Linked DNA regions of Homo sapiens: region 2 is linked to region 1. The links are contacts of gene promoters, found by promoter capture Hi-C in human tissues and cell types (Jung and others, 2019). All regions are on one chromosome and are shown on one strand. Each heading gives the region's core, a stretch centred on a gene start or on the middle of the fragment in contact. The rest is flanking DNA. Distances are from core to core; before and after follow the strand shown.

Region 1 (4,306 bases), core at 1,285-3,784:
GGGTGGGTGGTGCAGGACAGGCAACTTCACAGCCACCTCCTTCCAGCAGAGAGGCTGCTGTGGGCAGGAAGCCCCAGGGTGATGCTGAGAACTCCTGCCAACGCCTGTCCTCTCCTGAGCCCCAACCAAGTGGACAGTGCCCATGTGTCCCTCTTGAGGGTCTCTGGGGGTCCTTCACCATCCACCCAGCCAACTCACTCATTCTTTGGAGCAGGTCCCACTCGTCCTGCAGAAAGGCGCCATAGTGACCTGCAAGGAGCAAGCATGGCCTGGCTGGCACCTGTGTTAAGGCTGGTGGGGCCGAAGCCTTGCACCCCCTCTGCACCCTTTCCTGCATCCACGCAGGCCAGGAGCTGCCCTGTCAGGCGGGACACAGGTCCCCAGAACCAGCAGTGTCTCCAGTTGGGGCAGTGGGACAGTCAGAGCAGTGGTTTGTCGGCATCAGACTCAGGGGCTCTATTTGCCCAGCTGCCTAAGCTCAGAAGGTGCTGAATGGAACCCCCACCCTGCACGGTCTGGAACCAAGTAACACCTCCTCAGGGGCCCGGTGAGGTAGCAGGCTCAGCCCCACACACAGCAGTGCAAGGGGGTAATGGGGACCCTGTATCAGCAATCATGTTTATGCAGAGGGAGCTCCCTGAGGGAAGAGAGAGCCAGTAGGGCTCGGCCCCTAGCCCCCAAGGCCTGAGGACAGCCACCCTCCAGAGGCGGAGCACAGAGGACAGCTGGCTCCAGCCTGAGCCACTGTCACGACAGAGGCAGGGCCTGCCGTCCTCCAAGCTCACCACACCTGGGGCTGCACTGAGCTGGCTCTGGCCCCTGCCCCAGGTGCCCCCATGCTCCACATGGAGCTCACCTCTCTTGGCTATCATCTGTGGGCAGCCCAAGTTCAGGTCAATGGCGTCACAGTAATCCTGAGCCAGGAGAGCCGCCTGAACAAACACCTCCGGGTCATTGGCACAGAACTGGAGAAGATGCAGGAGTCAGCCACGGGCCCAGCCAGGCCCTAGTCCCTTGCTGCCCAGCCCTACGAGAGGTCCAGTGTGACCCCATGAGGGTGTGGGCCCAGGTTCACTGCAGGAGGGTGCTCTGTCCTGCGGAGGCTTACAATATGACAAAGCCGGGAGGAGTCCCCAAGCCACCCGGATTTACAGATTTTCTTCTGAACTGTGGCAGAAGCCACAATCACTGACTTCTGAAGAGCAGAGCCATCTCCACTGGTTCTGAAGAGGGAGTGTGAGTGTGAGAGGCAGCAATCCAGAGGCCCCAGCAGGGCTGCAAACCTCACAGCACCCAGGCTGCCTGAGCCACTCCTAGAGAATGGGGTTGGATTCTGGCAGGTGCACCTGGCAGCCCTGGCTCCACCACAGGAATCACTGCTGTGGCTACGTGGACTCTACATGCCTGGTGCCACCTTCTCCCTCTCCTCCTGGAATTGAGCTGTCTCTGGAAAGGCTGAAAGTGATGTCCCGCCACAGAGAGAAGGGTTTTTCCCCAGGCATTCCAGGACCGGGAACCCAACCGCGGCCGCGGCCACAGCCCCTCCTGCGCACCTGCACGATGAGGGGCCGGTCCTCGGGGCACACCTCGCAGTACAGGTTCTCCTTCCGGTAGTTGGCGTCGCGGACAAAGACCTGGGCATGCAGCATGGGCGTGTAGCAGAGCTGTGCCCCGTGGCGCCGGCTCAGCAGCCTCCAGGCCAGCTCGCTCTGGTCCACCATGGGGGCCACGACGTGGCGGGCCCCTCGCAGGGTGCGGCTCCAGAACTCGAAGCCCTGCAGCTTTGGCATCGTCTCCAGGCTGGGGGAAAGGCGCAGACCCGGGGTTCAGCCAGGCCCAACGAGGGGCTTAAGACTCAACTCAGAGGCAGCGGTCACCCTTCTAAGGCCGCTCCAGTACCACCGTTGGGTCACACGCGGGGGCACTAAAGGCGGGGGTCGGTGCAGGCTGGAGAACGGCCACTCCAGTGCCGCCACCTCCTAGCGGACCTCGGGGGAGCCGCTGGACCCCTGGGACTTGACCCTCCCTGGGGAGCGGGACTCGATGTCGGCCTGGTAGGGGACTGGCGTGAAGGGGGAAGAAACCTTGACGCCAGCGTCCCCGCGGGCCTGGCCCTGAGCAGGCCGCCCGGCGGTGAAGTTAGGACCCCCGGCCCCTTCCCGGGAGAATCGGCTCCGCGCCGGGCCAGGGGAAGGGCAGAGCTTCCTTCTCCGCACCCGGCCAGGCGGCCCGGCTGGCCCGAAACGCCACAGGGGCGCCCCTCGCGAGACTCCTCCGGAGCCACGCGGCGGGCAGCGTTTGCTGTGTGAAGTGACAGGAGCCCACACGCCTCCGCGTCCTCACCGCGCGAGGGCCCCGCCGTGTCCGCCGCGCGCCTTTGGCTCCGAGGGCGCCGGGTGCCGGTGTCCCGGGCCCGCCCCTCTCCGGCCTCGCCGCCGCCCGGGGCCCCTGCAGCTCCCGGGGCGCCGCGAACGCCCGCACCGCGCCGGGGCCGCCGCCGGGCCGCAGCCGGGCCCAAGGCTCCGCGCCGCCACCGGAAGGTGCCCGGTCCTGCGCGGTCCGGGCGGCCCACGGTGCGGCGGGAAACGCGTTCCCCGGAAACCGCGCCCGGCTCCGAGGGGACCGGCGACGAGAGGTCGCGGCGCGGGGTCGGAGGTCAGAGGCTGAGGTCACCACCGTACCCGTCAGGCCGTGGCTAGAGAGGGGTCGGGGCTCGCCGGGACTCACCGACAGCTCGCTGGAAACGAGGCATGTGGAAATTGGGCCTCGCTGAGGCGCACATAAGGCCCGGGCCGCGGGTAGACCGTGGGCGCTGAGGCCCTGCGCTGCCCAGCCCCCAAGTTCGCATTGGGGGCTTCATCCCGTTATATCCTAAAGCGGCCCCAGAGCCCTGCCTCGAACCCACTCACCTGCCGCCTCTGAAAGCCACTCACTTTCCGCCGCTGCGTTGCGGAAAATCACCCTCCAGGGACCTTCCTTGCCCGCCCTGGGTTTCCGCAGCCGCCAGCCTTCGATCGACTTTCCTACCCGCCGTGGACCCTCCTTGGGTTATTTCGAGCTGTGGGGACCCACTGGGAACCCCAGAGTGGATGTGAAGGTTATTTTAAACTGAAGGCATTTGAGACCCAACAGATGTAAAAAGCAGCTTTGTCAGAGCTTTCCATATCTGAGAGCGAAGCCCGAAGTTGAACCAGGACATTCAGTACCTAAAACATGTGAAATCTCTTGGGCCCCCGGAATCACTAAGGAAAACTCAGGCTGGAAGCTGCTCAGGGCAAACCTGCCTCCCGCTCTATTCAGAGTCACCCTCTGCTCGCTGAGATAGATGGATATCTGACTGACTCCTTTGAAAAGGCTCATCAGAAGGCTGGGCGCGGTGGCGCACATTGAGACCAGGAGTTCGAGACCAGCCTGGCCAACACGGTGAAACCCTGTCTCTACTGAAAATACAAAATTAGCCAGGTGTGGTGGTGCGCCCCTGTAGTCCCAGCTACTCGGGAGGCTGAGGCAGGAGAATCGCTTGAACCTGGGAGGCGGAGGTTGCAGTGAGCCGAGATCAAGCCATTGTACTCCAGCCTGGCGACAGAGCAAGACTGATCAAAAAGGAAAAGAAAAAAAAAAAAGGCTAATCAGAAACTCAAAACAATGTAACCGTTTGTGTATCACCTATCTGTGACCAGGAAGCTCCCTCCCCGATGGCTTTTGCTTTAAATTGTCCCGCCTTTCCAGACTGAACCAATTTTTTTTTTTGAGACGGAGTCGCTTTCTGACCCAGGCTGGAGTGCGGTGGCGTGATCTCGGCTCACTGCAACCTCCATCTCCCAGGTTCAAGCGATTCTCCTCCCTCAGCTTCCCAAATAACTGGGATTACAGGCACCCACCAACACACCCAGCTAATTTTAGTATTTTTAGTAGAGATGGGGGTTTCACCATGTTGGCCAGGCTGGTCTCGAACTCCTGACATCAGGTGATCCGCTGGCCTCCCAAAGTGCTGGGATTACAGGCGTGAGCCACCGCAGCTAGCCGCTATGTTCATCTTACATATATTGATTGATGTCTCATGTCTCCCTAAAATGTATAAAACCAAGCTGTGCCCCAACCACCTCAGGCACATGTTGTCAGGACCTCCTGAGGCTGTGCCATGGGCATGTCCTCAACCTTGGCAAAATAAACCTTCTAAATTAACTGAGACCTGTCTCAGATTTTCTGCATTCACAGATAGAACAGCCTTGGTGGTCTTCAGAGGTGGCCAGATGTCCCTGGTGGACTGCAAGGTTGGGTGCACACTAAGGAAAGACAGGCGAGG
Region 2 (4,485 bases), core at 978-3,477, 380 kb before region 1:
CCGGGTTCCCCACCGGCCACTGACGGGCCTGTCGAAGGGCTCTGCTGTCCCACCGGGTTCCCCTCCGGCCACTGACGGGCCTGTCGAAGGGCTCTGCTGTCCCACCGGGTTCCCCACCGGCCACTGACGGGCCTGTCGAAGGGCTCTGCTGTCCCACAGGGAGGTGGGTCTGTCCGGGAGGAGGAGGGGCCCTGCCCTGACCACTGGCCCAACCCTTCCCTTCCTGGGCATCTGCAGGTCATGGAATCTGTGGTAAAGAACTGTGGCCAGACAGTTCATGATGAGGTGGCCAACAAGCAGACCATGGAGGAGCTGAAGGACCTGCTGAAGGTGGGTGAGACGGGGGCATGCGGGTGGCCACCCAGGCTGGCACCTTTGCTTCTCCGGGTGTTTACTGGGCACTGATGACAGAACAGCACCAGGTGTGGCGGAAAATGTGCAGGTGCAGATCGGTGGTCCCTGCACTGCGCAAGCTCGCACTCATGAGTCGGAGAGACAGGGCCGTGAGCCCCAATCCAGGGAGGTCAGGGTTTAGCAGGAGCCGGCCTGGGGTGCTGTGTCTGGAGGACCAAGGTGACAGCGACCCTGGGGCCTGGGGGAAGCTTCCGGGAGGCAGGGCTTGGGCACCTGCTGTCTTAGGGAAGGTGAGTAGATGCCACTGGGTGGGCAGGGCAGGTGGTGGCTATCGTGTGTGAGAGTGGCTGTGGTCCGGAGGGCAGGCTGGCCACATCCCACAGGCAGGGGCCTGGGAGGGCTCTGAGCGGGGGCTTGTAAGATCGGATGTGTCTGGCGGGGATAAGAGCTGTTTTGGAGAGCGAGGGCTTCATGCTTTCCTGGGCAGAGGAGGAAAAGCCCTCCAGATCCCCAGGAGATTGTGCCGGGGACATCTGCAGGGATTGTGCTGGGGACACCTGCAGGGACTGTGATGTGGACTGTGATGCAGTGGGGATGCTGTTGCAGGTGTCAAGGAGAAAGAGTGTCCCATGTAGTCAGGCTGCTCCCCTTCTGTCCCAACCTGTGGGCCAGACCTGGGTCTCATAGGAGACTCCCTGGACTCACACAGCTGAGAACCTGCCCGGGGATCCCGGTGGACAGCCAGGCCTCTCAAAGGCCCTCACTGGCCACTTTGGCTGGCTTCCTGTCCCGTCCTGTCCTGGCTGAGAGGCGGAAGGTGCCGGAGTCTGGCCCTGCCCGACCCTGGTGCTCCTGAGCTCCTTCAGTCAGGCTGCAGATCCTGAGCCGGTTCGCTCCTCTGGGGTGAGGCAGGGCTGTGAAGGGAAGGCGCCGCTGAGGATGCAGAGGGGTTCTGGAAAGGAGCTTAGGCTGAGGTGCAAGTGCCCCGGAGCCTGCTTGCAGCAGCCTCTGATCGCACGCCGTCCTGCACGTCACACCGGGACGGCGTCCCCGAGAGGGCCGTAGACGCGAGGCCAGGCTGCGCTCTAACCGGGGGAGAGGATGGCTGCAGGGGGTCTGGAGCCCGCTCTGAATTTGGAGGCATTTCTGGAGCGGCTGCCCCCCGCGTCTCCCCGGCTGTGACTGGAAGGAGGGGCGTGGCCAGAGCCCCGCAGTACCCCTGTGTTCTCAGCCCCAACACCACGCTGCCACCGTCAGGCCTGCCGGGTCCTGCCTGTTGGAGGCTGACGGGAACCGGGGATCCTGGGGTGGGCAGGTCCCGTGGGGAAAGGGAGAGACAGATGGTCAGGGGCACAGAGACGCGGCGTTGTTTGGCTCCAGCAAGTAGAGGCAGGCGTGAGGTTTGAACTCAGGGTCTGGGAACAGGTTGGTGCATGGCCCCCACGCCCCACTCGGGGGGCCCTCCCTGGCCTCTGTGTCAGCCCCATCTGCTCAGAGGCTGAGGTCTGCCAGCTGCTTCCTCACACCGAGGCCTCTGGCGCCTGGAGTGTCCTGCGACCCTCACCCCCTTCTCCCTGCCTGCAGAGACAAGTGGAGGTAAACGTCCGTAACAAGATCCTGTACCTGATCCAGGCCTGGGCGCATGCCTTCCGGAACGAGCCCAAGTACAAGGTGGTCCAGGACACCTACCAGATCATGAAGGTGGAGGGTGAGTCAGGACTGAGGTTGGGACCAGGTTGAGGCTTGGAACTGCTGGGCAGTCAGGCTCAACGGGCACAGTGGCGAGGGGCCTGGGAAGATGGGTTGTTCCCTGTGTTGGGAGGGAGGAGGGCGGTGGCCTGGAGCCAGGGAAGACCGTGCATGTGAGGGCGGGTTCAGACCGGCTCCTGCCTTTCTGGACCCACGGCCCACGGGCAGGGGCAGGCAGTGATGGCAGACAACACACAGGTGAAAAGGCAGCAGACAGCCTGTTTCAGAGTGGCAGGACTCCTGGGGGCCGGGTTGGGCTGTGCAGTCAGGGAAGGCCTCTGAAGGAGCTGTCCCAAGTGTCGAGACTGGAACAGAAGCCAGAGCCGGCGTGAGCAGGCAGGCAGCACCCGTGGGCAGACACTCAGGGTTGAGGCCCCAGGGCAGAAAGGTGGCCAGCGTGCCAGAGGAGAGTGCAGCCGGGCCTGTGCGCCGAGGGCCTCCAGGCTGTTGGGCTGGAGTTCAGGGTTGCTGTCAGCGCAGCAGGAGGCCTCTGGTGGGTTTTCGTCTAGGTCGTGGCTGCCAAGGTGTGTTTCTTAAGGGTCCCTCTCGGCCATTGTGGCCGTGGAGAACTAGGGGATTGTGTAGAGAGAGGTGGGGGCTTCAGGATGCATTTGGGAGTCTTGGCTGGTGCTCAGGGCCCACTCAGTGAGAGAGAGGTGGGCATGGCTGCTCACATCTGTGCGGGTTCTCTGTGGCCCTGAGTCTGCTGAAGACGAGGCTGAGAGCGTGGGGAATGGGGCAGGCTCCAGGGGTGGTGCGTCCCCGCTGCAGGAGTTGGACGCTTGCCCTGTGGCTGCAGGGTGGGCAGGACCAGTGTGGAGAACACGGGAAGAACGCAGGGGGCGCTGCACGAGCTGCCTTGGACCCTCAACTTTGGGGTGGTGGATGCTGGTGGTCTGTGCTCCTGTCTCCTTCCTGGGGTGGGAGCTCTCCTGGATTTTTTCTGGGGTCGTGTGTCAAGAATAGCTCAAGGTCTTGTCCTCAGGATCAGTGGGAGCCCTGGCCAGAGAGCAGAGGGTGAGGGAGCCACTCAGCAGGCGGGGCCACGCAGGGGCCTCATGCCCTGATGGAGTGGGAGCAGTGTCTCAGGAAGAGGGCAGCAGGGCCTGGCTCTTGTCTCCCGCCACAGTGAGGACAGAGGCCCCATGGGGACACCCAATCTTGGGGGCAGGAGGCTGTCTCGGTGCCCCCAGACACCTTCACTTGGGTGCACGGTCACTGCTGCGTTGCAGCTGCCGAGAGTGAGGAAGGGGCTCCCGGAAGTCTTGCAGGCCAGGTGGGAGCAGGCAGTGACTATGGCTTCATCTCTCCAGGGCACGTCTTTCCAGAATTCAAAGAGAGCGATGCCATGTTTGCTGCCGAGAGAGTGAGTGTGGGCGGCCGCCAGGGGTTCTGGAGTCGGGCTGCTCAGGAAGCGTGAAGGGGAGTGCTGGGAGCCCGGCTTGTTTGAGGGTTGGTGGCTGAGCTCTCGTCTGTCTGGGACCTGAGGATGCCTGTGTGTCCTGGGCGGAGGCGTAGCAGCTGTCTCTGCAGGGCGAGGTGGAGACGTGGCTTGAGGGCCTTTAGAGTGGCTAGGGGGCTCGGGAAAGGAAAACAAGCACCTTTGATGAGGAAGGAAGTCCCTTCCTCAGGCCTCGGCAGCTTCACCCCAGGCCACGCCGCTGGGAAGGGCCGCCCGGGGCATTGCTCTCGCTCGTGCTGGGGTCCTCTCTGGGTCCGTTGCCTTCTGTGGGGCAGGGGAGGCTCTGTGCCTCTGGGGCTGGTGGGGCGGGAAGCGTGTGGTCCTGACTGCTGCCCCTCCTCAGGCCCCAGACTGGGTGGACGCTGAGGAATGCCACCGCTGCAGGGTGCAGTTCGGGGTGATGACCCGTAAGGTGAGTTCCCACCTGGGGGGCTCTACAGCCCCGGCCAGACACCAGGTCCCCTGCCGTGCACAAGGCCACCGTCCCTGCTGGGCCTTTCCTTCCTGGTGGGTGGTTCAGGAGGTGAGTGCAGCTCGCAGCGGGTGGCAGTGTGGCGTCAGGAGGGGGACAGTGAGGGCCCACGTAAGGGCCTGATGCCACTGCCTGGGCCGGGCCCAGCCTCACTCTGGAATTATAATGTTTTAAACCTAGGGCTACAGGCCTTGCCACAGTCACTCTGCTGCTTGCCAGGGCCGTGGGGCCCCCTTCTCTTTGTGGCTTAGCCCATCTGGATTCTTACCCTCGAGGCATCTTCACATCAAAACCCCCTCCAGGCTGGCAACCGGCAGTGCTTGGGGTTTGGGGTGTCAGCAGCTTCCAGCACCCACTGCACTCACAAAAGCTCTTGTTTTATCAGCAGAATTGATGTGTATTTTTTCCTTGCCCTTACTTTTAACTTACCTTATTTTCCCCAAAACGG

Evidence for each region. Contacts are between HindIII fragments. The study calls those that stand out against the background at their distance.
Region 2: a fragment that was not itself captured here is called in contact with the fragment with the promoter of DUS1L in region 1 in 1 of the 25 tissues and cell types used here (spleen).

What each region holds. Positions count from the first base shown.
Region 1 is chr17:82,063,270-82,067,575 of GRCh38, forward strand. It overlaps DUS1L (dihydrouridine synthase 1 like), which reads right to left and starts at 2,535. Exons shown (of 14, transcript NM_022156.5): 1 at 2,344-2,535; 2 at 1,554-1,800; 3 at 857-965; 4 at 199-249. The coding sequence starts at 1,790. RefSeq lists an enhancer at 1,175-1,903 and silencers at 2,127-2,176, 2,467-2,536, 2,547-2,606. The HindIII fragment of the contact is 11,103 bases long and covers 1-2,749 here.
Region 2 is chr17:81,686,766-81,691,250 of GRCh38, forward strand. HGS (hepatocyte growth factor-regulated tyrosine kinase substrate) reads left to right here. Exons shown (of 22, transcript NM_004712.5): 4 at 238-330; 5 at 1,939-2,062; 6 at 3,417-3,469; 7 at 3,909-3,977. Among named protein-coding and RNA genes, the nearest start is that of MIR6786, 4.7 kb to the right of the region's middle. The HindIII fragment of the contact is 5,827 bases long and covers 1-4,485 here.